Linked DNA regions of Homo sapiens: all the other regions are linked to region 6. Evidence: promoter capture Hi-C in 16 types of primary human blood cells and fetal thymus (Javierre and others, 2016). All regions are on one chromosome and are shown on one strand. Each heading gives the region's core, a stretch centred on a gene start or on the middle of the fragment in contact. The rest is flanking DNA. Distances are from core to core; before and after follow the strand shown.

Region 1 (3,953 bases), core at 3-2,502, 1.4 Mb after region 6:
TTATTTCTACTCCTACCTTTTCACCAGTCTTCTAACCAGAAGACCAAGGAATGATAACCAAGTGACTGCTAACTGATTTTTCTTTGATACAGTGTTTTTTCTGATTATAAATTATTTTACTTTACCAAGTTAAGTTCATCAGATTGACAATATGTGATATCAGATGCACAGTTTTGCAGGGTGGAGTTTCTGCTTTCAAACAAGTTTACTGTACAGCACATTTTATCAAGGGAAGTTTGCTGAAGTTGTTTTCTTTTAACCTGATAACCATTGAAAACTTTTCTAGTAATCCCCAATAAAACTGGGCTTCAGTTCCGTTACCTGTACAATAAGACAGACTAGTGGATCTCTTCAGGTCTCTTCCAGATCTGAAATTCTGATTCTATGAAGAGTTCAAGGCATTTCTCAGAAGTGACCAGATAATATTGATAATGCCTTATTGGGAATGCAATTAGCGTCATTACCTGACCTCTTTATTTCCCTGATTGAATATAAGGAAGGGAGTTATTGTTTATTTGCCATGGGCTTTGTGCCAAACCAGAGCTTGTTTCTTACCTTTAGTACACTTAATGCTTTAAACATACCGTCTTAGGATCAATTGGAAACATGCTAAGTTTACTTTAAAATGACAGATAGGGCACTGTCTTTTGGCATGTGAAGGCACTTCTCATAATCACAGCACTGGTAGGTTTTCTTTCTGTTAAACTGAGTAAACTTATATGTTTTGAATTGAAAGGTCTATAAGGTGTGGAGAACTTTAGGGAAAGCTAAAGTCAGTTTTAGGGTCACCAGCATAATATGTTTATAAGCATTATCTTGGGAAAGCCCCTAGTGCAAGTATAAAGCTTACTTTGATAGAGAAGGAACTAGTGATAAAAGGTCTTTTTTTAAAAAAAGAGAAAAACTTACTGGTTTAAATAGGAATTTTCCTTCTGTGTAAGAAGTCTTGGGGAAAAAACTCATTCTCGTTTAAACTACAACAGTGTCTTTATTTCTTTACAGATATTGCAATGGCAAAATCAGCAAAGTTAATTCAACAGCAGCTGGAGAAAGAACTGTAAGTGTGAAAGAGGCCTGTTGGTTAATTATATATCTTAACACTTAGACTGTAAGCAGCATATTCATGTTTCTTTTGTTTGGTTTTATGTGATTATCACAATTATAGACTGAAGATTAGTGTGATAAATATTTGTTAAATAATTTACAAAATAATGGAATCACAAAAACTTACTAGGGTGCTTATAGATATTTTAAAATTTCATGGAAAGAAGATTTTTTTGAAACCATAAACTTAATTTATTTTACCATTGTTACTAAATCATTTATAGTTGAAAGGTTTTAGAAGCTAAAAAAGTTTACATGCCAACTTGAGAACGGTGTTATTTCAGTGAGTGGAAGTGTTTGTTCACCACTCAATAATGCCTGTGAAGTGGTATTTAAGGATGCATGTAAATAATAAAAAATAAAAACTGAGAATCAGGAAAAAAGAAATTAAAACATTTAAAAGCCACTTTGGAAATTATTGTTGACAGAATAAGAACAGAACACTGAGGAAGACTACAAGTCTTTGATACTACATTATAGCTTCTTAGATTGTTAAAATACTTGGCAATATTATATATCCTGCTTTGAGTGTTTCAAGGTTTGTAAATTGAGCTATAAGCTTTTGAATTTTAAGGCATCTAGCATGTCTTCTGCGTTATGCCAATTTGTAAGAGCTAGCCAAAAGCTGGTGTAGAAGAAATGATCAACATTTATAGTAAAGCAAGTTATGTTTTCTTATTGCTTTTGTGTAAGGCCTTGAAAAGGATCTGATGAGGAAAAACTGTATAAATTCAACTTTTAGAAACTTTTCTCCCCACTATGACTTACTGACTCCCTTATTCATTTAAGAAGCACCTGTAGTGCATCTAGTGGATGCCAAGACTGCAGTTGGGAGCAGCTGTAGGAGGAAATGTGTTCCTGTACTCAGGAGCTTAGAGTCTGGTAGAATCTAGTCAGCTTCGGGCATTGGCAAACTCCTGCCTGGGCCTGCAAGCCAAGAGTAAATCGACATTTTTAAAGGGCAGGTAAAAAACAGAAGAAAAATATGCGACAAAATATTTAATTTCTGGCTCTTTGCAGAACAATTTTGCCAGCCCTGCCTATGCCATTTTCAGTGGTTCCTTTCCCGTCTGGAGCTGCGAGTTTATCACCCTGTCCTCCTGTGCTCTTGATGCTCACTCTCTTGGATTGTATCTGTTGCTGCCATTAGGTTAATAAGGACATTGGAACAATTGGATGGTTGGGTTTTTCTAAAAATTCTCTTGAAATTGTTGGGAATTGTTTTGGGGAAGCCAAAACTGTCATAATGTTATTTGTGAATCAGTCTTGGGTTATTTTTAACAGTACAGTCCAAGTCTCCCGTGGTTAAAACACATGTTTTCCATAGGCTGTTTGCTTTTCACTCTATAGACTTAGAGAAAAACAATACAGAAGCCAATCCTTTTTTAAAAGCATTGAAAGGCAATGCTTTCTTAAAAGGCAGTGAAACAAAATGTTGACAAATTGTAAAGGTTAACATCAGTTAAAATTCGGAATCTGACTAATTTTAATCTCAGATTTATGAGAATTAGGCCCTGTTAGCTTAGAGGCATTTCATAGTCTCTCAATAACACGGTATATTATATTTACATGGCCTTGTGGCAAAAGCTGAATACATGTTTTACTTTTTTCCTTAAAAAATTTTTATTGTAAAATATCTTACTTATAATAGTATATATGTCACATGCATTAAGCTTAAAAAATATTAAAATGAATACCTATGTACTCACCACCATGCCTAGAAGGCCCCTGTTTCTCCCCAAAAGCTTTTCCCTCAAGAGGTCAGCAATATCCAGTTTTGTATTGTTTTTTAAAAATACTTTTACAGTGTGTGTGTGTGTGTGTGTGTGTGTGTGTGTGTGTGTTCCTTCCTAAACAAGGTATTGCTTAGTTTTGCCTGTGGATTCTTCACTAATTTTGAAGCAACTTTACAGAACAAGAAATGCTTTATTTTGTAAGAAAGAAGATTGGCAGCATGTATTCCTCTGCTTCTGGATAGCAGAAAGGGGAAGGGGAGGCCGACAAATGAGTGTTGCTTATGCACCCTTTATTAGGGCCAGCAGGTGGCAGTAAGGGGACTTACATTGGGAAGGTTTTGGTGGTTAAAGAGGTTGGATAATAGTAATTCTGCCCTAGTTAGATATGAGAATCTGGAGTTGGTGGATTTCTAAACTCCATATCCAAATAGACTCAAGATAAAAATACATACCCTATCTACCCACACTTAACTTTCAGAAACTTATGTTTTTATAACACTTAAAGCATGTATTTTAAAAATATATTTTTAGACGGCTTCATTCAGTAGATCCTCTTAGAAGGGGGCCTTGGGCTGAAAGAAAGTTGGTGTGACCTGGTCTACTGCTGACCTGCCTTCTAGCCCTGTGAGGTCTGACCCCCCCAGCCCGCCCCACCTACCTCACCTCTCTGTCCAAGAGAGGGACTTATAAATGCAAAGGATTATTCAACAATCTTAATAGCATAATTGGCAATTCTATAGTTAAGTTTTAAATGAGTGCTGAAATGTTTAGAAACTAATATGATTTAATTGCTGTATAAAAATTTTGCCTCCTGACTTCTTTCCTTTTGCCCCACAGCAACACCTTACGAGTTACCCGTTCTGCTGCCCCCAGCACACTGGACAGTTCCAGCACTGCCCCTGCTCAGCTGGGGAAGAAAGGCAAAGAGTTTGAATTCTCACAGTTGCCCCTCAAAGTGGAGTTCCTGGAGTGCAGTGCCAAGGGTGGAAGAGGGGACGTGGGCTCTGCTGACATCCAGGACTTGGAGAAATGGCTGGCTAAAATTGCCTGAGAGGCAGCTCTAAAGCACAAGACCTGGATGTGTGACACACAGTTTTGGAAAAAGGTCTGTGG
Region 2 (4,314 bases), core at 933-3,432, 1.2 Mb after region 6:
TCAATAAATACTTGCTGAATGAATGAAGTTTAAAAAAATCTGCTACAAATGCTTCTCAAACTTTAATGCACACTGAAGATCTTGTTAGAAATGCAGATTCTAAGTCTGGGTTGGAGGCCAAGATTCTGCATTTCGAAGAAACTTCCAGGCCATGCTGATACTGCTGGGTTCTGTGAGAAGCAAGGATCTACATCACCCCTACTATCATCCAATTATTATACTGTACATAATAAAACATAATTTTTAACAATTAACCAAAAAATTTTCAAGTATGACCAGTACACAACTGACTCAAATTTCTACAGCACGCAAAGGACCACTCTGGCTAGGAGACAAATGAAAGCAACTTAATTTCCAAGAACTGTAGGTCAGCCATATTAAACAGCAATGTGATAATAGACTTCCAGCCCCCCGAAATACATAATGATGTACTTAGATCAATTCAAAAATATGTGATAATGATATATCTGTATTAATGTAGACTATAAAATTATTATGAAAGTGAAATATCTACTTCTAAGACATAAAGCCCAACAAATCAAAAACACTTAAAAACAAGAAAATGAATTCACGGTATTAAGATGTTTTCAACTCTTACCTCGAGAGCTTTAAAAAAACATTTGGAATTGTCTGAAGACTTTAAAAACTTCACAAAAAACGGTTCTTTGTCATTTCTGGACATTTCTGAACTGTCAAAATAAAGGAACCATTAACAAGAACAAAACCACATTAGATAAAAAGTTGCATGTTTAACCTACCTATTTTTCTGTGCAGACAAGAATGCCTAAAGACAGACATTCTGGCTCTGCCCGTGAATTCGTCAACGGCATTTCTAAGAAATCCTGGAACTTGGACAAAGCCAAGGTAAAAGATGACAACACCAATCCTTGCAAATCAGACAGCAAAATTAACCCGAATTGAATACACTGAGGAAGGCCCTGCTATGAAGGCTCTAAGCCCTTTAGGCCAATGGACATTCAATTGCACTTGTTTTAAGGATACACAGAGTGTATCTGTCCCTGCGGATACCCACGGCCTGCGAGGTACGTTCATCCCTCAGTAAACAGATTTTAAATATAAACATGGAAGCCAGTTAGCATGGTCTTGGCCCTGCATAAGGCTAGATGCTCCGGTTCCCATCTCCAGGAAAAGGCCTGGCTCTGGGATCACGGAAGCCACGTCCTCTCGGCGTCAAAGGCCCACCCGCCGGCTCCAGGGCCAGTTACCAGGACAGGAAAAGAGGGTCCTGAAGGCCACAGAAGGCATCGCGAACCCCAGTTGGGGCTGGGGAGGAGCTGTGTCCCCACTCCGCGCCTCACTTACCTCGTTGGAGCCTCGGGGTCTCCGGGCGGCGAGTCGGGGGACGCGCTGGCCGCAGGGCGGTGGCTGGGGTCGGGCGCCAGCCCGGCGCACAGCCCCCTCCCCCGACTCGGCGCCGCCCCTACCCCAAAGCAAACGCTGGAGAACCCGGAAATTGCCCAGAACGGGAACCGACTTTCGCGCCAACCGCGCGGCCGCGCTTGCCTTTTCCGGTGGAAGTGACGCCATCGGCAGCTGCAGCAGAAGAGCGGAAATGTCAAACGTGGAGGTGAGCAGTCTGTGGGCGGTGGGGCTTCAGGGAAAGCTTGGGCCGGACCCTTTGGGTTTAGGGCTTTGCTGGGCGGGCCTAGTCTCCGCTGCGAGTAGGCCCAGCGCCGTCGGTTCAAGAGGTAGGACCACAGGCCAGGAATACTCCTTTACTGTTAAAAAAGCCAGGGAAAGAAAGGATTTCCTCAATAGATATTTATTTTACACCTGTCTTATACCAGGCATGCACGGGAAAAGGTATTATCCAAAACAATTCCGTGAGGCAAATAGTGGTAGTTCCATTTTGTAGATGTAAAAACGGAGGAAGTTAAATGATGGGTTCAAGGGCACACGGCTAGTAGGTGGTAGAATTAATACTGCATCCAGGTCTTCTGACTACGGACTGGGTGGTTTCCCTCCAACACAGCAGGAATAGAATCACCGCCTAACACAGCCACAAGATGGCAAGGGAAGAAAGGATGACTTATTACACAGCTAATGCAAAGGGATCTTTGTCAAGATCTTCAATGGTCTCCCCTCCTCCTCCCCTTCAGTGGACATCGCCGTTCTCTTTCTCTGCATCTGCCTCAGTACTGGGGAGATTCTGGGACTGAACCTAAGATTCAGATGGCAGAGAGCAAAGGGAGAGGGGATAAGATGGGCCTGCAAACCTTAGTGATAACCAGCGGAAAACTGATTCGTTGTTGCTTCTTTTCATTTTATTCTTTTTTAAAAAAATTTTTTCTTATTTTATAAAATCTAGCCACTATACTAATGAGGATCATTTTATTATTCACTGCTGAGATTGAGAAAATGACTTTGGATTTACTAATGTAAAAGTATAATGCCATGTCCCTTGATTGTTTTTGTTTTTCTTTTCTTTTTAGAGCCTAAAGATAGTAATGAGCAGCTTGAGTCTTAAGTTTTTGAATACACCGATGGAAGGTGACAAAGATTCTTTGCTTGGCCAAACTTTAGTCAGACTCCTCAACCTTCTCGTAGGTTTATCTGTGCATTTCCTTGGAAAATCCAGTTAGAACCCTCTACCCTCAATATCTGATCAGGTTCCTCATCCTCTACCATCCAAGGTGATGTCTGATCACCTTGACCTATTTTCAGCAAGAAACCCCTTTACTCCTGAAGTTCCTTCTTAGTAATTTTTTATCCAGTGACCCCAAGCTTTTTGTTCCTTGGCTATAAATTCCCACTTGCCCATGGTGTATTTAGAGTTGAGCCCACTCTCTCTCTCCTAATTCAGAATCCCATTGCCATGGTTGCTATACCTATCCTGATGGTCCGGAATAAAATCTGTCTTACTGTGCTTTAATAAATATCATTAATTTTTTTTTTTTTTTTTTTTTACCAGAAATGAGTCAGAATCAATTAACACTGGGGCTCAAAGGTAAAGGCCTATTGCTGGGGGAAGGGTGAAGAAAGCCTTAAAAGCAAAAAAACAAAAATCACTAGAGGTGGGAAAAAAAAGAAACCACAGTTAATTGTTAAGGTGCAAATCTGACCTGAATCTGTAATAACAATTAATATTTCTAGGGCACTTTACAGTTAACATGGGACTCCTGCTCACACTATTCCCGTTTACTCTTTTCAGCAACCCTATAATAGATGGGTATCATTGTCTCATGTTATGGAGATGGGGAAAGTGAAGTTCAGGGACTGTGTCACTTGCCCGTGCCTTTCCTGACACACCACACTGCTCCTGGGCACGTGCTGTCTGCCCATCTCTGTGTGAAGTTCCACACCGGGGAGGGAGCCCATTCCTGGCATTTCTGGGCCAAGTAGAGACCTCACAAGAGAAGGAGATTCATAGATGCTGCTAATGAAGATGAAGAAAATGCACCCTTTAGCTTTTACCCAGCCGGAACTTGATACCAGAGGAGTGACCTGTCTTTAGAGTAAGAGTTCACCACTAGGGGGCAAGTTCTCCCATCTTGTGTCTCCAGATAAGCAGAGAGGGTCTGTCTCTAGTATCTACTCCTGGAAAATGGATAAAGCAGTGGTTCTGATGTGTAGTGTCTGGACCAGCAGCATCGGCATCTCCTGGGAATTTTGGGGGAATGAAAATTCTTGGGCTCCACTTCAGACTTATTAAGTCAGGAGCACTTGGGGTAGGGCTAGCAATCTGTGCCCTTCAGGTGATTTTGGTACACATTAAAGTTTGCTTGAACAGCAGTCCTTCAGGAAAGGGTGAAATGGTTAGTATCCACGGAGGATTGATTCCAAGGCCCCCTACAGATAACAAAATCTGAAGATGCTCAAGTACCTTATATATAACCTGTGCACATACTCCCATGTACTTTTTTTTTCTTTTTTTTGAGACGGAGTCTCACTGTTGTCCAGGTTGGAGTGCAGTTGGCACAATGTCTGCTCACTGCAACCTCCACCCCCGGGGTTCAAGCGATTCTCCTGCCTCAGCCTCCCAAGTAGCTGGGGTTACAGGCGTCTGCCATCGCACCCGGCTAATTTTTGCATTTTTAGTGGAGACGGGTTTCACCTTGTTGGCCAGGCTGGTCTTTAACTCCTGACCTCGTGATCCACCTGACTCAGCCTCCCAAAGTGCTGGGATTACAGGCATAAGTCACTGCGCCTGGCCACTCCCATGTACTTTAAATAATCACTAGGTTACTTATAATACCTGATGCTATGTAAATACTATGTAAACGTTTGTTATACTGTATTTTTAAATTTTGTTTTTTTATTGTTGTATTTTTTCTACTATGGCAAATTTTACAT
Region 3 (4,237 bases), core at 651-3,150, 1.4 Mb before region 6:
AGTGTCAGCAGTAAAAGTATATTCAAATTACAATAGTATACTTGTTAGATTTTCAGACTTATTTAAATTTATCATTCCACTCTGTTCTTTCAATGTGTTGTTCTGGTGGATTTGTGAGTAGGGAAGCTAATGGTTTGGCTAACACTGAATGACATCCCATGAAATATGGAATAGCATTCTTCATTTAAATGTATGAGATAGGGGAATATCTAAGCTATTCTAGTAAATAATAGTAATAATAAATGTAATTGGATATGCTGATCCCTTTACATTGTCATTGTTGACTTCCTAAAATTTTTAAAGTGCAAGATTTTTGTGTTAAGCCTATTAAGTTATTGTATCTCATTTATTCAATAAATAAAGTATTTTAGGATGAGTGCAAAAAATGCAAGAGCAAAATTTGATGGGTGTAGTCTACCTTGTAGGTTTTTTTTCCTTCCCCTAAAAGGGCTTTTTTCATCGAGATGTTTTATAATAAAAAGTGAGCTGATTTTTAATAGAGTCCAGAGGAACCTCAATAACCAAATCCAGAATTCTTAATGGTTGATGAATATTAGAATATTCAGTCAGCTAACTTTAATTTCCTGACCCCAAAACAAGCACAACACCCTCAAGTATAATCTGTAACTAGCCCTTCTTGCTGTTGTTTCTACACAAGCAGCCTTTTGGGGAGAATATTTCCTCCAACAACTTTTGGTGCATCCGGCAGCCCAGCTCTCTTCCTGGCAGACAGCAGGCAGTTCCCTTTTACCATTGCTTACTTTAACTGGATCAGTTGAGGGAGGCATCTGTTTTACTCAGTCCTTTCCTTCTAAACCGATCTGGTTCCTTTTTGACGCATGAATGTCTCTCAAGAGTAATATAGGCAATTTTGGCCAGCACCCAACTTTATACCTATTTTGAACTGAAAATTTTAGTTGTGATATCATCCACCCTTAAGTAACTTGAAATGAGATATGTATATGACTTAAATTTAAAAGAAATGAGAAGGGGGAAAATTCTCAAGTTAAAATTAGTTTCTGGATCAATTTATTACTCTTCAACTGATTTTCCTGGGGAAAAAAGCTTAGTTGCCATAACATCCATGTTTAAATAGTGCACTTTGAGTGATGTGCATGACTTACAAGTCAACATGAGAGACAAGCAACCCTTATGTTAGTAATAGTTTCTTGGTCAGTTATTCCTAAGCTTGGTTTTTGGAAAGAGTAATTTGTAAATTTAATTAAGAGTAATTTGTACATCTATGTGGGAAATAAACATTGTTGGCACCAGAGTTCTAAAAGTAGTTTACTTCCACTAATTGTGCATTGTATAAATAATGTTATGTAGTATCAAAAATAAGCAGTTAATATTGTGTGACCTTTATTGCTTTAAAATACTGTGAAATTGAATTTCCATTCCGTAGTTTAACGAGAACACTTTTTATTTCTCAGATACTCTTATAAGCCCTAGTCCCTGCTACTCACGAATGAATAATTATGAACCTTTGACATGCTATAGAACATACTTATTAGTACAGTAGTGCTGTATTTATTTGGGTAGTTATATGAAAAAAAAAACACCCAAAGTTTTAGTTATTAAGAAAGCAAACACTAAGCCTGATGAAATGTGTGGGGGTGATGGATATGCTCATTATCATGATTGTAGAGATGGTGTCATGTTTCATGGGTATATACATATATCAAAATTTGGCAAATTATACACTTAAAATATGTGCAGTGTATTATGTCAATTGTACCTTAACAATTGTGTTTAGAAAAAGCAAAAACCCTGTACCATGATATATGAAAACCCTTAAGATTGTTAAACTGGCTGAATTTGCAGTTACTAATGATAATCATTATGAAACTTGATACTTTCAGCTGAGTGCTGCTTTTTAATCTTGGGTTCATACCAGCCAATTTTATTGTTTTTAGCTCAGAGAAAAATCATAGGCTTTGTTTTTGGTACCTTTATTGGGCAAGTGAAGAAGGAAGATCAAAATGTAGTTGATAATATTGTCCTACATACTAGGTTTCCAACTTTCTAAGAGTGGAAAATTTGGAACATTGAATTTCTGATTAGAATGTGTTTGGGTGTCAATTTTCTCAGTCTCTCCCACATGCAGCAGTCACTTAGCATTTTAATTAAAGTTTGGTTGATGTTTCCACTTCCCTATTAGTTTGAATTTTGAGAAACCCTTTAAAACCTAATCACTTAGCTATGGCTGCTTTCCTTCAGGGGAGATTCAAGGAAGATTTGTGGCCCCACAGCCCTTCATTTCCTCTCTTCTTTCTTTGCTTATGTCTTTCATCTCATAAGCCTCATACAAATGCATACACTGTGAGTTTGGGGATAATATCGGCCAATCCACTTTTTGCAATATTGGATTTGCTATTTGGTGATCAGCTGCTTTTAATTTATATTGCTATTTCAAAGACATTTTGGTGCAAAGATTATTGAGCTCTAATGAGTAGTTTCTATTATTTTTAGAATTGCTTTAGTAATCAAAATTACAGGAAGGATTAATGACAGATGTGAGTTGCAAGGCAGTTTAACATTACTTAAAAAATGAAACATTTGGGTGTTCCATATGAATTGGACCTGACACATATCTGAAATTGCATTTTAAGTAAGCTTTAAAGCAGTTGACTATTGAACTTGCAGGGAGTAAGTACATATTCAAAAGGTTTTGAAAACTGACAACAGTAGATAATTTCCCACAGATAAAGCTTATTTTGGCATTATTTTGCTAGCTCACATAACCATAAAAACTCTGTGTGTGTGTGTGTATGTGTATACATACGTAAATATATACTCACGTATATATATGTGTGTGTGTATGTGTGTGTTTAAGGTGTGTATATGTGTATGCATTTTTTAATTGGACAGTTTTTTAGTTCAACACTAGTTTCAGCAGCAAAAGTTGTGTTCAGCTGGTAATAATATCCCGTTCTGATGGATGAAGAGGCAAGGGCTCAATATTTCATAACTATACTTGGACATGAACTCAGTATTGAGTACTTGGAAGTACTCAGTGGAGACTTCTACTTTATAAAAATTCAAAAGGCGATTCCAGGGCAAGATGGCCGAATAAGAACAGCTCTGGTCTGCAGCTCCCAGCGAGATCAATGCAGAAGGTGGGTGATTTCTGCATTTCCAACTGAGGTACCTGGTTCATCTCATTGGGACTGGTTAGATGTGGGTACAGCCCACGGAGGGCGAGCAGAAGGAGGGTGGGGCGTCACCTCACCCCGGAAGTGCAAGGGGTTGGGGAGCTCCCTCCCCTAGCGAAGGGAAGCTGTGAGGGACTGTGCCATGAGGAACAGTGCATTCCAGCTCAGCCACTATACCTTTCCCACAGTCTTCACAGACCAGGAGATTCCATCAGGGGCCTACACCACAAGCGCCCTGGGTTTCAAGCACAAAACTGGGCAACCGTTTGGGCAGACACCCAGCTAGCTGCAGGTTTTTGTTTTTTGTTTTTTTTTTCCCTGTATCCCAGTGGTGCCTGGAATGCCAGCGAGACAGAACTGTTCACTCCCCTGGAAAGGGGGCTGAAGCCAGGGAGCCAAGAGGTCTTGCTCAGCGGATCCCATTCCCATGGAACCCAGCAAGCTAAGATCCACTGGCTTGAAATTCTCACAGCCAGCATGGCAGTCTGAGGTCGACCTGGGATGCTGTTGCTTGGTGGGGGGAGGGGTGTTCACCATTACTGAGGCTTGAGTAGGTGGTTTTCCCTTCACAGTATAAACAAAGCTGCCAGGAAGTTCAAACTGGGTGGAGCCTACTGCAGTGCCACAAAGCCGCTGTAGCCAGACTGTCTCTCTAGATTCCTCCTCTCTGGCAGGGCATCTCTGAAAGAAAGGCAGCAGCCTCAGTTAGGGGCTTATAGATAAAACTCCCATCTCCCTGGGACAGAGCACCTGGGGGAAGGGGCGGCTGTGGGTACAGCTTCAGCAGACTTAAACGTTCCTGCCTGCTGACTCTGAAGAGAGCAGCAGATTTCCCAGCACAGCACTCGAGCTCTGCTAAGGGACAGACTGCCTCCACAAGTGGGTCCCTGACCCCCGTGCCTCCTGATGGGGAGACACCTTCCAGCAGGGGTCGACAGGTACCTCACACGGGAGAGCTCTGGCTGGCATCTGGCAGGTGCCACTCTGGGATGAGGCTTCCAGAGGAAGGAACAGGCAGCAATCTTTGCTGTTCTGCAGCCTCTGCTGGTGATACCCAGGCAAACGGGGTTTGGAGTGGACCC
Region 4 (3,897 bases), core at 1,169-3,668, 1.7 Mb before region 6:
AAATGCTAAAAAGTGTAGCTGTAAGATTAGGGAGAGGAAAAGAGAGATAACTCTCGTTTTGCACTTATATAATCTTCAAACCAGAAATTTTGTAAGTATCCACATTTCCAAAAGGACAACACAGTTTAACTGAAATCATTACATGACAGGCATTTAACAAGTCTAAAGAGATCCTTAAATAACCTCACCTCACAGCCTGTGCATTTGCTACTCCCTCTACCTAGAATGCTATTCCCCCAAGGATCCATGTGGCTTATACCTCCACCTCCTTCAGATCTTCAGGTGCTCAAATGTCACTCAGCAGTAATGCCTTTCTTGATTGCCGGTTTAAAACTGCAGGCCCCACTACCACAACTACCGCCACACCCCTCACCGGACACATTCCCTTTTCCCTTTCCTTACTGTTTTTCCCCCATAGCAACAACTTCCAGGTTATATTTTATGTACAGATGCTGCTCTATTTACAATGGGGTTAGATCCCAATAAATCAACGAAAAGTTAAAAATATTGAACGGTGGCTCATGCCTGTAATCCCACCACTTTGGGAGGCCAAGGCAGGTAGATCACTTGAGGTCAGGAGTTCGAGACCAGCCTGGCCAACACAGTGAAACCCTATCTCTACTGAAAATACAAAAAATAGCCGGGTGTGGTGGTGCACGTTTGTAATTCCAGCTACTTGGGAGGCTGAGACAGGAAAATCGCTTGAACCTGGGAGGCAGAGTTTGCAGTAAGCAGAGATCGGGCCACTACACTCCAGCCTGGGCAACAGAGCCAGACTCTGTCTCAAAAAAAGAAAAGAGAAAGAAAAAGAAATGGATTTAATACATCTAACCTGCTGAATTTTCCAGCTTAGCTTACCTTAAACATGATCAGAACACTTCCATTAGCCTACATTTGGGCAAACACATCTAACTCAAAGCCTATTTCACAATAAAGTGATTCATCTCACGTAATTTATTGAATACTGAACTGAAAGTGAAAAACAGAATGATTGTATGGGTGCTCCAAATACATTTCAACTGAATGTGTATCACTTTTGCACCATGGTAAAATCAAAAAATCATAAGCTGAACCATTGCAAAGTGGGGACAGTCTCTATGTTTCTTCTTGTCTACATGCCCACTAGAACGCAATTTACATGAGGAAGGGATTTTTCTATTTTTCTCTATTCATTGAAAAATCTCCAGCAACTAAGTTCCTAACACATAATAAACACTCAATAAATTTGTTAATTTCTCTCTGTATAGTGTCACATTTTAGAATGAAGGACTTCGAAAAACAGCTATTAAAAACACCATAAGCAACAAGGAAACAGAGGACCCGAAAAATACAATTAAAATTAACCAGCTAATGTAAGTAAGTTTCTGAGCAAGTTTAAGGTAGGGTAAGCTATGAAGTTCAATAAGTTAGGTGTATTAAATGCATTTTCTATTTATGATATTTTCAACTTCTAATCAGTTTACTGGGATGTAACTCCGTTGTAAGTTGAGGAACATAAGCACATAAAATATAATCTAGAAGTTGGTGCTGAGGCGAAAAAAACAGTAGGGAAAAACACCAACTGGATCTAACAGATATCGACAGAACACTCCACCCAACAAAAGCAGAGTACAACACACACACACTACATATATTGCCTGGCTTTGTCAGCTGTAAGAGCAAAGTGTCAAAGACAATCTAATGGCAACGAGCACTAGATAGAGGCTTCTAATATAATTCACTACACACTAAAAGAATTAGGCTTCCTTAATGGCTGGTTTGAGCACTAAGGCAGGGTAAGTACGGTATCTTATATCAAAAAGTAAAGAAATGCTTAAAAAAAAAAAAAAAGATGAGGACTGTCACAAGGACACAGGAATCAGCCTGAGAAGGCTCCTTCTCCCACTGGCCAAATCTGAGACAACTGGTGCACCAATATAATTAACAAGGTAATAAATATATACAACTGAAAAAAATTAAGAATTAGTCTATACCAATAATAAATAAATAAATAAATGGGGCAAAACAGAGGATCCTTGAGTACAGCAGAATGCTGAGGTCCTACTGTTGAATGTGGAGGACGTATTTGAGTGGAAAAATCATTTTTGCAACCATCATAACAAAAATTCAATCAGGCAAGAATCATCAATGGATGCCAAATGTCAAGCGATAAACCGTGGTAATGGGCAGGATATTAGCACACCTTTTTTTGTTTGTTTTTTTGTTTTGTTTTGTTTTTTTGAGACGGAGTCTCACTCTTTCACCCAGGCCGGACTGCAGTGGCGCTATCTCAGCTCACTGCAAGCTCCGCCTCCCTGGTTCACGCCATTCTCCTGCCTCAGCCTCCCGAGTAGCTGGGACTACAGGCGCCTGCCACCGCGCCCAGCTAATTTTTTGTATTTTTAGTAGAGACGGGGTTTCACCGTGTTAGCCAAGATGGTCTCGATCTCCTGACCTCGTGATCCACCCATCTTGGCCTCCCAAAGTGCTGGGATTACAGGCGTGAGCGACCGCGCTGGCCTTTTGTTTGTTTTTTGATACAAGGTCTCACTCTGTCACCCAGCCTGGAGTGCAGTGGTGTGATCACAGTTCACTGTAGCCTGGACCTCCTGGGCTCAGGTGATCCTCCCATCTCAGCTTCCCGGGTAGCTGGGACTACAGGTGTACACCACCACGCCCAACTAATTTTTTACATTTTTTGTAGAGACAGGGTTTCACCATATTGTCCAGGCTGGTCTTGAACTCCCAGGCTCAAGAATCTGCCCACCTCAGCCTCCCAAAGTGCTGGGATTACAAGTTTGAGCCACCACACCAAGCATATTTGCACATCTTAAAACTCTTCCCACAGGTTATTAGTTGCAAGGGATTGAAAAAAAATAAAAAACTATAGAGGGGAGACAATTTGGGAAGACTTTGACCAGATGATTAAAATTAACATCACAAACAACCATCATTTGTTTACAGATGTGACCCTGTGAAAATCCATCACCATCTATGCAGTATTCCTACTAAGTTATAACATAAATCTTATCATGAGGAAACATTAGACAAACTCAAAATGAGAAACATCCTATCAAAAAACAAAGGAGTGGGTGACATAGAGAATGCATGTAAAAGCTGGTGAAAACTGAGTAAGGGCTATACTCTAGTTAACAGTAATGCACCTATGGCAACTCCTGATTCTGATATGGTACAACAGTCATAAAAGGTCATCATTGGGGGAAGCTGGGTGAAGGATACATCACTATTCTTGCAACTTCCTTTGATTCTACAATAATTTCAAACTAAAATGTATAAAAATGATTTTGAAAAATTAAGTGGGGGGAGGCATTCTTCAAAAAATGGCAATGTGATAATAACAAAAGAAAAAAAGGCTGTAGAAATATTAAAGGAGGCTAAAGAGATATGACAACTAAATGTAATACCTGAACCCTAAACAAGGTCCTGTCCTGAAACAGGCAAAATGCTATAAGAGACATTATTGGGTCAAATACAAAATTAGAATAAAAAGTGTAATTACTGTATCAATGTTAAAATTACTGCAGCCATTAACTATATTGTGTTTTGTAACAGACTATACCTCATCTTAGAAAACACTGAAGGCCGGGCACAGTGGCTCATACCTGTAATCCCAGCACTCAGGGAGGCCAAGGGGGCGCGGATCACTTGAGGCCAGAAGTTTAAGACCAGCCTGGCCAACATGGAGAAACCCTGTCTCTACTAAAAATACAAAAAAATTAGCCAGGCATGGTGGCACATGCCTGCAATCCCAGCTACTCAGGAGGCAGCAGCATGATACCCAGGAGGTGGAAGTTGCAATGAGCCAAGATCGCGCCACTGCACTCCAGCCTGGGTGACAGAGCAAGACTCTGTCTCAAAAAATAAAAATAAATAAAAAGTAAAAAATACACACTGAAA
Region 5 (4,075 bases), core at 387-2,886, 1.2 Mb after region 6:
GCTGTAAATGTAGACGAGATAAATCTGTTCTTCTTTCCACTCTTCCTCATTGTCACTCTAGCCTCCAAATTCTGCAGTCACTTCTGGTTGGTAGGTAATTCATACAATGCTGCCATTATTTTTTATTTTTTATTTTTGACACGGAGTCTCGCTCTGTCACCCAGGCTGGAGTGCAGTGGCACAGTCTTGGCCCACTACAACCTCTGCCTCCCAGGTTCACCTGATTCTCCTGCCTCAGCCTCCCAAGTAGCTAACCGGCATGTGTCACCACACCTGGCTAATTTTTGTGTTTTTAGTGGAGATGGGGTTTTGCCATGTTGGCCAGGCTGGTCTCCAACTCCTGACCTCAGGTCATCGGCCTGCCTCAGCTCCCAAAGTGCTGGGATTACAGTTGTGAGCCACTGCGCCTGGCCAGTGCCATTATTTTTGAATGGCATTTTGCCACTTACTTTTTTCCTAAGTATCTTTAAAGGAGACTGTCAAGCTAGTCAAGAACTTTGTCTTATAGCCAGCATGTGTCTTGTTTTAATAGAAATGGAAGGAAAGCATCCTTAGATATCCTTTTGCAGAAGCCAAGAGAGGCTGTGATGTTCCTAAGGTTATACAGTTAAGAGAGTCAGGGTGATGAGTAGAAGGCAAGGGACAGAGTTTTGGGAACCAGCCTTTTTTTTATAGGAAGGTGGGGAAAAGGTAGAATGGTGAAGGAGTTGAGAAGCTTGAAGACCTAGGAAAAGCCACCATTGTCATGAAAAATAATTTTATGAAAATGTTGGTAGTTTCTGCCAGGTGTATCTTCGAGGTGAAGAGTTGCAAAAAGGACGTTCGATTTAGCCATTATTGTGCTTTAATATCCCTGTTGTCAGTATCCCTTTTGTCAAGAGACAAAAGATAAATACACTTGGTAATTTAGGACATGTAAAGTTACACAAAATAATAAAAAGTAATCCAGCAAAAAGAGAAATAATCAAAGATGCCTTGGAGAAATAGATTATGACTCAAGTCAATTCAAGAATAAATTAATTAGCATTGAGAAAATACTGCAAGCAGTCTTAAGATGGTATGTTACCACTGAGGGTATCTTTTCCATTTATAACATCTGGAAAGCCAAAGACTGAGATCTTATATATTTTTTTTAAACAGGTGATAAATACATGTCTGGTGTTAGGGGCTAATTCTATCCTCTGTAAACACTGGACACAGACTTGTTTTCATCTGCTGGAATGTGAATTCTAATTCTGAGAGTATTTTATGTGCGAAAGGATTGGCAAATAAAATTATACAACTTTCAAAACTCTTCATTTGCTCACTAAAAATATGCTTACCTTAAATGCCTGTTTGTACACTTTGGTGCAAGGAAAATTTTGTAATTGTGCTCTTAATCCTTCAGCTCACCTTCTTCTCTGCATTTCAGGTTGTATCATCCTCTCTTCCCTCCCTTAGTCGCTTGAGGTGGTAACTGGGGTCTTGCTCTTATGTGGGGCTGCTATAAATGATCAGGCATATTGTCACAGAGGCACATCAGGTTTTTTTTATTTTTATTTTTTTGAGACAGTCACGCTCTGTCGCCCAGGAGGGAGTGCAGTGGCACGATCTCAGCTCACTGCAGCCTCTGCCTTCCGGGTTCAAGGGATTCTCCTGCCTCAGCTTCCCCAGTAGCTGGCATTGTAGGTGTGTGCCCCCATGCCTGGCTCATTTTTGTATTTTTAGTACAGATGGGTTTCGCCATGTTGCCCAGCCTGGTCTTGAACACCTGACCTCAGGTGGTGCACCCATCTTGGCCTCCCAAAGTCCTGGGATTACAGGTGTGAGCCACTGTACCTGGCCTCACTTTTTAAATAAGACGTTCAGTCTCGAAAGAGATTGACTTCTTCAGGGTCGTACAGATAATCATGGATAAAACTAACGATTTGGACTGAAAATTTTCTTGGTGATTCCTTAATGAATTTACATCTTTGCTTTTCCAGCAGTGAAAAGGAAGAAGACGATAATGAAAAGAGACAAGATCCAGGTGATAACTGGGAAGAAGGTGGAGGTGGTGGTGGAGGTATGGAAAAATCTTCAGGTCCCTGGAATAAAACAGCTCCAGTACAAGCACCTCCTGCTCCAGTAATTGGTAATTTTACTATTTCAGTTTCAGAAAGATGTCTAATTTATATATGATTTTATATATGGTCCACTTTCAACTAAGTGCATGATTGTGGTAGGGTGAGGAGGAGAGGCTCCTTTCCATTCCTGGTAGAGTGGGATGTGTATATATCTTGTTAAAGACTTTAAAATCCTAAATAAAAGGAATCTGGAAGTTAAAAGACATGCTTTTGTCCTGTATGTTGCTGTAAAATTTATATAGATATAGACTAGTCGATTCCAGTTTCATTTATTGGAATTGAGCATTTCTTCTAATATTCTCGTTAAATATTAACTACTTGCTAATGGAGGAAAAGGTAAGGAAAAGACTTTAATTTACTAGAATCCAAGGTCAGCTTCATTTAGGATTTTTAGTGGTAACTACCCTAGGGTTGGGTTTAACTCCAAAAGTTTTCATGAGAGAGAAAATTCCTAAAGCTTTTATCATTTAAAATATTTTTGACAGCTGAGTAAAGACAGAAAGACAAGGGGCCCTTGTCTTTCACTTGTGCTTTGTCTTTTTCATTCCCTATTTAACTTTCCTGTTCTTTGAAGCATGAATTCTCAGCAGGGCCAATTTTATCATTCTCAAGGTGGTAAAAGTTGCTTCTTATGGAATGAAGGAATCTTATACCTTAACAGTCATTTGTGGCCCACGAAAAGACTAGAATGCATAAACAGATGTATAGTATATCGCAGTATTAAAATTTCATGGAGTGGGGGGCAGTTAGGAAACAGATGTCTGAAAGGTCTCCTTAGGGCAATAATGAAAGTTTAAGAGCACTACTTTAAAGAAGTGTATACTCATTATTTTATTTAGAATGTTATAAAGAATAACATATCACTCCAAATCTTGTTATGCAGAAATCACAGATAACTACTCTATGTTAAATTTTTATTTTTATATTTTTTAGAGACAGGGTTTCACTCTGGCCCAGGCTGGAGAGCAGTCATGCAATCATGGCTCATTGCAGCCCCTCAACTGCTTGGGCTCAAGTGATCCTCCCACCCCAGCCTTCCAAGTAGACTACCGGGGCATGCCACCTGTTTATTTTATTGTAGAGATGAGATCTTAACTATGTTGCCCAGGCTAGTCTTCAACTCCTGGGTTCAAGCAATCCTCCCACCTTAGCTTCCCAAAGTGCTGGGATTGCAGGTGTGAGTCACCACACCCGGTCTTATGTTTTTAAATCATCTTTAGAATCTTTTTGTTTTGTTTGTTTTGTTTGAGACAGAGTCTGGCTCCTGACTTCAAGTGATCTGCCCGCCTCGGCCTCCCAAAGTGCTGGGATTACAGGCGTGAGCCATTGTGCCTGGCTAGAATCTTTTTTTCTTTTTCTTTTTTTTTTTTAAGACAAAGTCTCACTCTCTTGCCCAGGCTGGAGTGCAGTGGCACAATCTTGGGTCACTGCAACCTCCGCCTCCCGGGTTCAAGCTATTCTCCTGCCTCAGCCTCCCAAGTAGCTGGGATTACAGGCGTGCACCACCATGCCCCGCTACATCTTTGTATTTTTAGTAGAGACGGGGTTTCACCATTTTGGCCAGGCTGGTTTTGAACTGCTGACCTCAGGTGATCTGCCTGCCTCGGGCTTCCCGAAGTGCTAGGATTACAGGCTTGAGCCACTGCACCCAGCCCTGGCTAGAATCTTAAAAAATAACCACACTGGCATTTCATTAAAAAATTCTTTACATATGGCATCTTAATCAGTCCACCAATCAGGTAAAGAAGTAATTCATATTTACTGGTAGGGAAACAGGACTAAAGTCCTATTCTGAGAGGCAGTCCCTGATGAGACCAGTCATCCAAGCCCAGCAGATTCCTTTTCTACTTCCAGTAATTTGGCTTGTGGAACTCATCATTTACGTAGATTACTAAAGTTGTACGTGGAGGAGGAGTTAGAATACTACCCTAGAAAAATACAATGTTTTCACTTTTCTTTTTTCTTTTTTG
Region 6 (4,404 bases), core at 1,150-3,649:
TAAAGGCTATTGGTGCCTAAAAGGCTGTGAAATGTATTTTTTAAAAAGCTGTGAAATATTTTAAGTGTACATCACATAATTTAGATTGTAAATTTGATACATCTGCACTATGAAAGTGTCAGAAACGCTAGTGCAAACTTTAATTATGAATAAAAAGACAAATCCAGAAAAAGAAGTGTGCATTTGTCACTCTTAAAAAAGAGTTGGGTGGGGAAAGGATCCAACTGATTTAACCTAATAGGGAAAGAAGAGACAAGTCCTACTCTCCCTGACTCTTGTATTTTGTTGTGGCATTTTAAGAAGGATCCAATTGTATGGATCCAATTAAAAGCAACCAGTGGTTGTGAAAAGGCTTGAAACTACATCTTGTGAACAATGGTTGAAAGTACTTTGAATATGGTTTCTTAAAATGAGTATCTGTAGCAGGGGTAGTTAGAAGGATATGCACGGGAGAGGGAGTGGGAAAGGGTGATAAGCTGTACTGATAAGTGCTTAAATGAATGTCACATACAAGAAGAAAAGAGCAAGAAACAAAGACAAAATAACTACTCATAGAAGAGAGTGCAAGTTGGCTGAATACAAGGAAAATGGCTTATAAAAATGCAATGGAAAAAGATGTCTTGTGAGGCAATTTTGCACTACAGAGGATGGGGACAATTCATGATGCCTAAGGCTCCTCTCAACACGAGAATTGATTTTATTGGTCTCAAATATTGAACAGAGAGGCAGTGTGGAGGTTGAACAGTTCACTGGCCTTGATGTTACAGGCAGGCCCTGTGTCTTAATCTTGGCTCAACCTTTAGGAGTTAGGTCACCTTTAGCAAGTCTCCTGGACTCTCTGGGTCTGCTGCTTCTCTAAAATCGAAATAATATACCCCACATTTACTTTTGGGATTACTGGAAGGCTTTGTAACCACATAAACACGTTTCTGTTTCCATGGGATAAGCCAATAAGGCCCCTTAACACAGCCCTCCTGTTTCTTTTTCCTCCTCCTCCCTTCCTACTCTATTTCGGGTTCTGTCTTCCCACACCCAGCTATTCCTAGTACCTTCCCTTACATGCACCTTATCTTACTGCTGCATTACAGAAAAGTCTAAGGATAAACACAAATAGTCTTTTTCCGCCCTAAGGTAGGGCAAAGGGTTAATAGAATCAAGAGGTAAAGTCTGTAAAAACCATTTTTCCACATTTTTTCATCCTGCAATCGCTGTCTATAAAATGAGCCAACTTGCTGAAGGGGACGCCAAGAAATCACAATTTCAGGACTGCCATGAAGAATGAGTATTCAACTCCTTATCAGAGACCTTTAACCCTTATACAATAATGTATCCATGCAGGTCACCCTACACTGCCTCTACTCTGAAGTCTGCAGCAGAATCACTATTTTTTTTTTAATCACTAATTTTTAAACTGTGGTCTTTACGGCTCAGATCTGGGAGTGGACATTGACCTTTCTTATTTAAACCATTGCCCACAGATAACACATAATTTCTAGCCGAATCCTTTAGTCCCAATATCCCCTCTTTTCACTGCCCTGACTTCCCTCTCAGGTGAGGTTCAGGAAGATGGTTATCTAGAGGGCACAGGTTCTGGGTTCAAATTACTTGGGTGCAAACATGAAATCCACTACTCTGAGGCTGGGCCTCAACTTATCTGCAAAACGAGGATGATTCGTATCTCAGAGAGTTGAAGATTAAGCAGCTTTAAGTAAACTTCTAAACACTTGATCCGGACACAATAAATGGGGCTACCAGAACTATCTTTCCAGCATTCCCACCTGCAAATGCCTTAGGCGTCTCTGAGAATTTGGTCTCTGAGACCTTCCAGAGCATCCATAACTTAAACCCTGCTCTGCTGTCGTTCAGGACGTCTCAATAGTAAATGAACCTGCTGGCTCCCAATCCAGCCAAACCAGGAGATAGGCTGAGGCTTCAGACTGCCTCGCAGATGCTCCATGGCACTTGACGGCAAGAGCTAAAAAGAGGTGATTTAAAACAAGATTTCCTCGGACTTAAAGCTTAAGTACCGGGTTGCGACCCTACTCTCCGCAGGACATAAGCGGAGGGGCGCGGCCCTAAGGCACACGCCGGAGGGGCGTGGTCATGGGCACCCGCCGGAGGGGCGTGGTCATGGGCACCCGCGCGCGCCCAGGGGCGTGTCCTTTTCAGCACCCACCGAGGCGCCAGCCCCCTGACGCGCTGCGTGGAATCCAAATCCCACGGCCGGTGTCGTTACTCTGCGCATGTGTAGCTGCTGGGGGCTGGCCGGAGGAAAGCAGAATTTCAGGGAAAGAACGATCGGGACGGGGAGGACGGGGAGGGCGGGGCAGAAGACGGAAGAGTTGAAATCAGCTGACTGGGTCTCGTGACAGCCTGGGCGGTGGCGACGCAGGCGTATTAGAGCGCGCTCGCTCAAAGCCTGAGCGAAGATGGCGGCCTCCAGAGTGAAACTCTGAGAGGCAGAGGGAGGAGGCGGAGGGGGCGGGGAGGCAGCGCCGCGGCGGCACCAGGAACCCGCGGCAGCGGAGCTGCAGGGCCCCGGCGGGGGAAAGGGGAAGTGGTGAGGGTGAGGAGGCCGGAGGGCGCCTCATCCCACTCTGGAAGCTGAGCCGGCGGCGGGAGGAGCTAGGGCTGGAGCCTCTCCAGCCTCCCGCGAAGGTAAAGCCGACTCCGGGCACTGGGCTCTGGGGCTCTGCCTTACTCCCTTCCCACGCCGTGGGGACTTTGTGGGGCTCAGGGCAGGGAAAACGGGGTGGTCTTGGCTGCTGCAGCCTGCAGCTGCTAAGGAAGCAGATTACCCTTCCCCCAGGCTGCTGGTCTGGTTCCTTTCGTTGGACGCCCCCCCGGCTTTGAGTGACATTAGCTCAGGGCGCTGCCCTGTCCAGCCCCACCCCTTTTTTTTGCTTGTTTTATACCTAGTACGCTCCTCCACTCGCCTTAACATATCCTTACCCCACAGGCTCTTCATTCCCTTGTGGGTTCCGCCCTCGGGATTCCCTTCCAGTCTCCTAGTCTGAGCACCCTTCCTGCTGGATGCCGGCAACTCTTGTTTCCTTGGGTCAGCGACCCTCCTTCCGAACAAGTCCTGCAGACTGACTTTCTTTGCTTTGTTTCGTTTTGTTAGGAAATGAGCATCCGCGTCGTCTGTTCTCCAGTACTTTTTCTAAAATCATTTTCTCCCCTAAGGCTTTTCCTTCCTGCAAGGCAGCTTATTCACGTGGCCTTTCCTCCGCTGCTGTGATTTTATCTTTGAATGTGGCCTTTGGAGTGGGTAAAGTAGGACTTAGACGCTCAGTGAAGTGGCTGTTAATCACTTGATACTTAACTATGTTTAAGAGTGCCTTCCCTTAAATTTTCTCCTTTTGTAGCGTGTTCCGTTAACCACGTTTGTCTTAAGATTGTTTCCTGTGTCCGTTGCTTAGAGGGGGGAAAAAAGTAAAGATTTCACCCTAATGTGGCGGTGGTCTCCCAAAGTAATTATTTCTCATTTTCCCTCTGCTTTTCCCTTTTACGTTATTCTGATTTCCCTCAAAAAGGAGGTTCTGTACCTGATGCTGTTGCGTCCTCTATGAAGGGCTTTATAGTGTACAGTTATGTTGAGCCTTTTGTAATACAGTGTCTTGGGGAAAAAAGTAGAAGTTCAGAACCTGCCCCCAGTAATTCTTTCTTACTATATTTTCTTTCTCAGTTTATGGACTTGATAGGTTTCTAGGTTTGAAACTACTGCCTGCAGGGAAAATTACAGTGATAAGGTTTTATAATATATTACCAGTACTTTGAGTTTATGGGAGTATGAAACAGAATTTGCCTTAAAAAAATAAATTTATAGAAACCACTTGTCAGAAATTCGGTATCCAGAACACAGTTCTTTGATTTTTGGAAAGTACTTTATTGGCTTATCTATCATATAACGTAAAACCTTGTTCACATTTTGTGTAATGTGAAACGCTTTTTAAGCTACTATATCTCAGACTTGGCTTGTGCTGTTAGTATCACAATGCATTCAGGCAACACACGTCCTTGTGTAGAAATTATTACATTATACTCCTTGTTTGAAAACAGGAAGTAGAACATATTAAGGGAGGAAAAGAGGAGTCAGAGGATTATTAAGAAATAAGAATGTAAAGAACCTTAAGGCTAGAGTTCAGTTCATGGAAAATATCAGCATTTGTATTCCACTGAGAGGCAATGAATATTCCTCTTTTTCTAAAGTGGTAGTAATAAATAGTCTAAAATATATTAATGTTATATATTGTTAACAAGCTTAGTTGTAAACAAAATACTTAAGCTAAAAAATAAAATATTAATAAGTGAATGAATTGTTTGGAATAATTTAACTTTATCCACAAATAAATAGAAGATGGTTGCCTTGCCCAGGTGGACTGTAACAATACTGGCTTTATT
Region 7 (4,322 bases), core at 919-3,418, 1.5 Mb after region 6:
TGTGGGGCCGCGGGGGCGTCCCGTGGGCGGGCTGGGCGTGGCGCCTCCGCGGGTGGCTTCCCCGGGCCGCGGCGGAGGGGCGGCGCCCCCTGGTGGCGGAATGCGACTCCAGGGCGCAAGGGGCCGCCCACCCCGCCTCGCCCACCCGGCGGGGGCCTCCGCGCCTTTTCTGAGAAAGCCAGAGGAAAGGAGCCGAGACCGCAGTCCCCTGGGCCCGTTTCCTCGTCTGTGGAATGGCATGATTATTGCATCTCACAGGGCTGTCGTGAAGATTCAAGGAGCAAATGTATGTAAAGCGCTTCGGATGTCTGGTACATTCTGAGCCTTCAACCCACCTGAGCTGTTGAAACTCTGGGATTCAAGCGATTCGGGTCAAAGAGGAACGGTGTGACACCTGCCTCTGTCCTTTCCAAGGTGGACTCAGGGATTGCATACGTCTCATCCAGAACCCCCAGTCTCTCTTTTGTAAGCTGGCGGTCATGAGATGTAATGAGGAAAAGGTTTAAACAAATGTTGGTCCCTATCTGGGACCTCTGAAGTCACTTTTAATGGATTTGGGGATTTTACAGATTTAAAAAGGGGTGCCTACTGTGGCCCATTTATAGACCTGTGGAGCGAAGAGAAGGAGATTAGTCACACTGGGGGCCGGAGTAGAAGCCGTTTTAAATTAGTTGCCCCGCTCTGCCTTGAGACTGAGACTTTCTGACTCTCAGTTTCACCCTTGGGTTCCAGCACCCAGATGAGAAGAGAGAGAAGGTGGAAGAGGAAGAGAGGGAGGGGATAGAGCAGCGGCCACCACCTCTCCCTGAGAGGGCGCAGAGTGGGTGGTTCCCCCCAGGTGAGCAAGGTGGGGGCCCCGTGGGTGTGCTGGGTAGGGGTGGAGTGTGCTGGGAGCACGCGGGAGGACTGCGCCTCTGCTCCTCGGGGTGTGGCGCGGCCCACTCAGGAGCCCCTTCCAGTGTAGACTCCAGGAGGGTACTCTGAGCTAGGAATGCCTTCCTGAGCGTGGTTGGTGGGGGCTCTAAGGCCATTCCTCCAGGCCCTGAGGGGGCAGAGAGACACGTGAGCACTAACCCAGGAGCCGGGACTAGGCTGAGCCCACTACTCACAGCCTGGGGTAAGCCAGCCTCAAGACCCTCCAGGATGGTCTCAGCCTGCATCCGACTGCCTCTCCTGCCTGACCACTGCGCTCCTTCACAGGCCTCTGGCCGGCGAGTTCTCAAGATGTGCAAAGGTTTCCTGCTTCCTTACCTTTGCACACCTTTGCTTATTCCTTTTGCCCAGAAAGTCTTTCCCAGCACATTTGACTCTCTTGAATTCCAGTCTCTCCCGCATGGCTAGGATCAAGCCCGTTCTCCCATCGCTCATCAAATGAACTCAGAGCATAGTACTTTGCCCTGTGTTAAGGTCTTGTCTTAGCTCTGGATTATATGTCCTTGAAGGGTAGGGACCATGTGTTTGTCACCACCTGTCCTTATACACATCAGGTAGTACATAAATCAAGGGAGGCGTGAGGGACAACTGGAAGGAGCCTCGTTTTCTCCATGTACAGGATGGGACTAGTCATAGTGGCCGCACAGGGCTGTGGGAACTCTGGTGCGATTCTGCCATGAGTCACCCCATCTCCTCCTTGCCTGCAGGGTCTCGCTCCATCAGCTGTCCTCTTGGACCCCGCAGCCTCCCCATCCTGTGGCCTTTTGCCCCAGCAAATCTCTCCTCTCTGAAGCCATCCTTTCCTTGACCCTGCATCTCTCTCAGCCACCACCCCATCTCTGCCTCCTCTGAGCAAAATCGTCTTTCCCACCTCCCCAGCCCTCTGCAGACTGCCTCGGCCTTGCCTGGGCATCATCCCCTCAGCTTCAGGGACCCACAATTGGTGCTTCCTCCATTGGGAAATCTTTCCAGACTGTGCTTCCCAACCCCGACAGCCCCGCAAAGCTGGTTTAAGTGTCCCGGTGAGCAACTGTGTCCACCTAGGTTCACTACCCACAGTAGAGGGTTTTAGTGCTCAACCATATCTGCTCTTTTCTTCTCCTGAGCACACAGAATATTCTGTTCCGCTCTTGCGGCAGCTAGGCTGGGAGCAGAGTGAAGAGCGTTACTTTGGGACAAAGCATTGCTTAGCAGTGCGGGATCTTCCAGGACTTTCTTCCCCTGCCCCATCCATCATGGCAGCTTATAATGAAATGGAGGTACCTCAGGTTCCAAACAGTCTGAGTTACTGAGACACTGGTTGGGGGGGCTCTCAGGCCAATCCTCCAGGCCCTGAGCAGGCAGAGGGGCACTACTGAGCCACTGACCTGAGAGTCACCCAGATCACCACAGGTTCTGTGAGCGAGATACCATCTTTTGTTGTGTCAAGTGACTAAGATTCGAGAGGTTTGTTACCACAGCATAGCCAAGCCTTTCCCCACTGATTTACTGATTAAAGAAGTGTTTTAAATGGGTTAATGGCTTGGTAAACTGTAAAGATCTGTGCACATTTTAGTTATTATTATTGCTGTCAAGTTGTAGCAGGGCTGGAGACATGATGTGGCTGGAGAGTGGAGGAATGGCCAGGGTATGCCATGGAGAAAAACTTCCTCTCATTTATGATTTGCCAAGGGCTTTTCCAGGATCTGTTTCCATATTTAATCTCTGATGAAAGGTTATAATGAATCTGGTGTCTGGTGCTACTGGCAGGAGATGGACCTTTCTTCCAGGTATTTACTTCCTGTGGTTGCGAAAGATAGGATGTATTTCTTCTGGATTTGCTGCAATATAATATTTTAGTATCAATTTGATACTGACTGGCTTCAGCCTCCAGCTTAACTGTATCTCTCCATCTTTGAGAGTGGTTGAATAAAATCACAATATGGCTTTGTTTCTTGAGCAAGAATCTGCTAAGCAGTCACCAGATGGAGCTGTTCCCTTGAAGGTCTGTGTGCAGGATTCTCAGGGCCTTTTCTTCTCAAAACCCTTCCCTCTTTGTCTCTTTTCTCCACAACTCTCTTTAACTCATGGTGCTATAGGGATAAATTGGCCCTGTTTAATGAATAGTTGTGATGTTGTTGCTAGTTGAATAGAAGGTAAGTAAATGAACTGTTACCTGGTTCTTTTGCCTTTGTTACCCACCTTAATGGCCCTCAAGAGATTCCCCCACTTCCCTCCCATGGGCCAGTGAACATCAGTGGGAAAAGAGGGGCCTCCCCACCATTTTAGTCCATGCTGACTCTTCAGAATGACTCAGCTGGGGCAATTGGGCTGGACCAGAGAGAAGTGGACAGCCTGGTTTGAGTCTAGACCTGGCCAGCTATTATCTATGTGAAATTGGCCACAATGGTTGCTTCCTCGGGATCAGATTCCTCACCTTTACATGGGGCATCCATCATGGAGGATCACCCCAAAGGGCTTTGGGCCAAAGGATAATTGATAGAGATACGGTATTTAGTTATCACTGTATTTGCGCTTTTTCCAAGAAGGGTAAAAGAAGGATTGAATAAAAAAGGTTCCTGCACACTCTTCCTTTTCCGGCTTTTTTGTTCAGCCCTTGAGGAGCGGGATTCTGTAGGGAGAGGGAGTGGTGCAGAGGAGTGGGCTTCCTAGGACTGGGGCCGGGAGAGGGCATAGCCGCGAGTGTGCACAGGGAGGTGGGCCTAACCCTGGGGTCTCGGCTTTGTAGGGTTTCCAGGCTCAGGTGAGAAGCAGGGCCATTAAACAGCCTCAAATGGGAAAGGGACCAAAGACCCACAATGGCACCCTTGAATGCGTAGGCATCCAAGGACCTTCAGATGGCTCTAGGAGCCAGACCCAAGCATGGTTGATATTGAATTTCCAGCCAGACAGTAGGATGGGGGGTTTGAAATCAATAACTGATTTAAAGAAATAAGTGATTTTTTTCTTTTTGCACATCCAAGCTTGTGAAGTGAGAATGTCTCTCTCAGTACTGATAAGGGCCTCATATAAATGTGAGCTCTTGGATTGTTTTTCATGCCCATTGACTCTTAGTTGCAGCCATCCAAAAAATCAGATTCACAGGCATCTCTTCACCTTGTTATCCTTCACTCACCTTTGAACATACCAAAGGCCTATCGAGCCTGTAAATTTCTCAGTGGCCTAAGCACAAATGGGCATACCCCAGGCTCTATTGCACTGACAGCCCACCTCACAGGATTTGGGAACTACCCACATCAATCTCATGAGGGGGCCGTTAAAAGAGCCATTCCTGGGTCCCCATTAGACCCACAGAAGTAGACGCTGGGGCTGGGTGGAGGGTGTTGGGAATTTGCATCCTCTGTGAGTGTCACACACTCAAGAAAGTTTGTTAAGCTTTGCTCTAGAAG

Evidence for each region. The method cuts DNA at HindIII sites, captures the fragments that hold promoters and counts their contacts. A CHiCAGO score of 5 or more calls a contact.
Region 1: a fragment that was not itself captured here is called in contact with the fragment with the promoter of DNAJC13 in region 6 in 1 of 17 cell types (naive CD4 T cells); the score reaches 5.0 in naive CD4 T cells.
Region 2: a contact is called between a fragment that was not itself captured here and the fragment with the promoter of DNAJC13 in region 6, in 8 of 17 cell types (fetal thymus, total CD8 T cells, naive CD4 T cells and 5 more). The highest score is 10.8, in fetal thymus.
Region 3: a fragment that was not itself captured here is called in contact with the fragment with the promoter of DNAJC13 in region 6 in 4 of 17 cell types (naive CD8 T cells, naive CD4 T cells, total CD4 T cells and 1 more); the score reaches 8.8 in naive CD8 T cells.
Region 4: a contact is called between a fragment that was not itself captured here and the fragment with the promoter of DNAJC13 in region 6, in 1 of 17 cell types (non-activated CD4 T cells). The highest score is 6.8, in non-activated CD4 T cells.
Region 5: a contact is called between a fragment that was not itself captured here and the fragment with the promoter of DNAJC13 in region 6, in 3 of 17 cell types (fetal thymus, naive CD4 T cells and total CD8 T cells). The highest score is 6.0, in fetal thymus.
Region 7: the fragment with the promoter of C3orf36 here is called in contact with the fragment with the promoter of DNAJC13 in region 6 in 3 of 17 cell types (fetal thymus, total B cells and activated CD4 T cells); the score reaches 11.7 in fetal thymus.

Annotation. Positions count from the first base shown.
Region 1 is chr3:133,815,876-133,819,828 of GRCh38, forward strand. It overlaps SRPRB (SRP receptor subunit beta), which reads left to right. Exons shown (of 7, transcript NM_001379313.1): 6 at 1,003-1,057; 7 at 3,678-3,953. The coding sequence ends at 3,891. Among named protein-coding and RNA genes, the nearest start is that of SRPRB, 12 kb to the left of the region's middle. The HindIII fragment of the contact is 818 bases long and covers 844-1,661 here.
Region 2 is chr3:133,660,446-133,664,759 of GRCh38, forward strand. It overlaps TOPBP1 (DNA topoisomerase II binding protein 1), which reads right to left and starts at 1,496. Exons shown (of 28, transcript NM_007027.4): 1 at 1,324-1,496; 2 at 599-689. The coding sequence starts at 682. LOC124909487 reads left to right here and starts at 781. Exons shown (of 3, transcript XM_047449438.1): 1 at 781-901; 2 at 1,068-1,588; 3 at 2,454-2,893. The coding sequence starts at 781. The coding sequence ends at 2,603. It also overlaps a transcript of TF not described here. RefSeq lists a silencer at 1,283-1,452 and an enhancer at 1,853-1,922. The HindIII fragment of the contact is 1,121 bases long and covers 1,623-2,743 here.
Region 3 is chr3:131,038,751-131,042,987 of GRCh38, forward strand. The region is part of intron 3 of NEK11 (NIMA related kinase 11); the gene reads left to right. Among named protein-coding and RNA genes, the nearest start is that of NEK11, 14 kb to the left of the region's middle. RefSeq lists an enhancer at 3,725-4,237. The HindIII fragment of the contact is 1,428 bases long and covers 1,187-2,614 here.
Region 4 is chr3:130,736,875-130,740,771 of GRCh38, forward strand. All of the region lies in intron 2 of PIK3R4 (phosphoinositide-3-kinase regulatory subunit 4), which reads right to left. Among named protein-coding and RNA genes, the nearest start is that of PIK3R4, 8.0 kb to the right of the region's middle. The HindIII fragment of the contact is 4,950 bases long and covers 1-3,897 here.
Region 5 is chr3:133,582,038-133,586,112 of GRCh38, forward strand. CDV3 (CDV3 homolog) reads left to right here. Exons shown (of 5, transcript NM_017548.5): 3 at 1,965-2,113. Among named protein-coding and RNA genes, the nearest start is that of CDV3, 10 kb to the left of the region's middle. The HindIII fragment of the contact is 1,847 bases long and covers 714-2,560 here.
Region 6 is chr3:132,415,103-132,419,506 of GRCh38, forward strand. DNAJC13 (DnaJ heat shock protein family (Hsp40) member C13) reads left to right here and starts at 2,400. Exons shown (of 56, transcript NM_015268.4): 1 at 2,400-2,658. RefSeq lists silencers at 2,090-2,189, 2,470-2,609 and enhancers at 2,640-2,789, 2,729-3,264. The HindIII fragment of the contact is 2,245 bases long and covers 2,017-4,261 here.
Region 7 is chr3:133,927,644-133,931,965 of GRCh38, forward strand. It overlaps C3orf36 (chromosome 3 putative open reading frame 36), which reads right to left and starts at 2,169. Exons shown (of 1, transcript NR_161373.1): 1 at 502-2,169. RefSeq lists a silencer at 1-327. The HindIII fragment of the contact is 5,965 bases long and covers 1-3,894 here.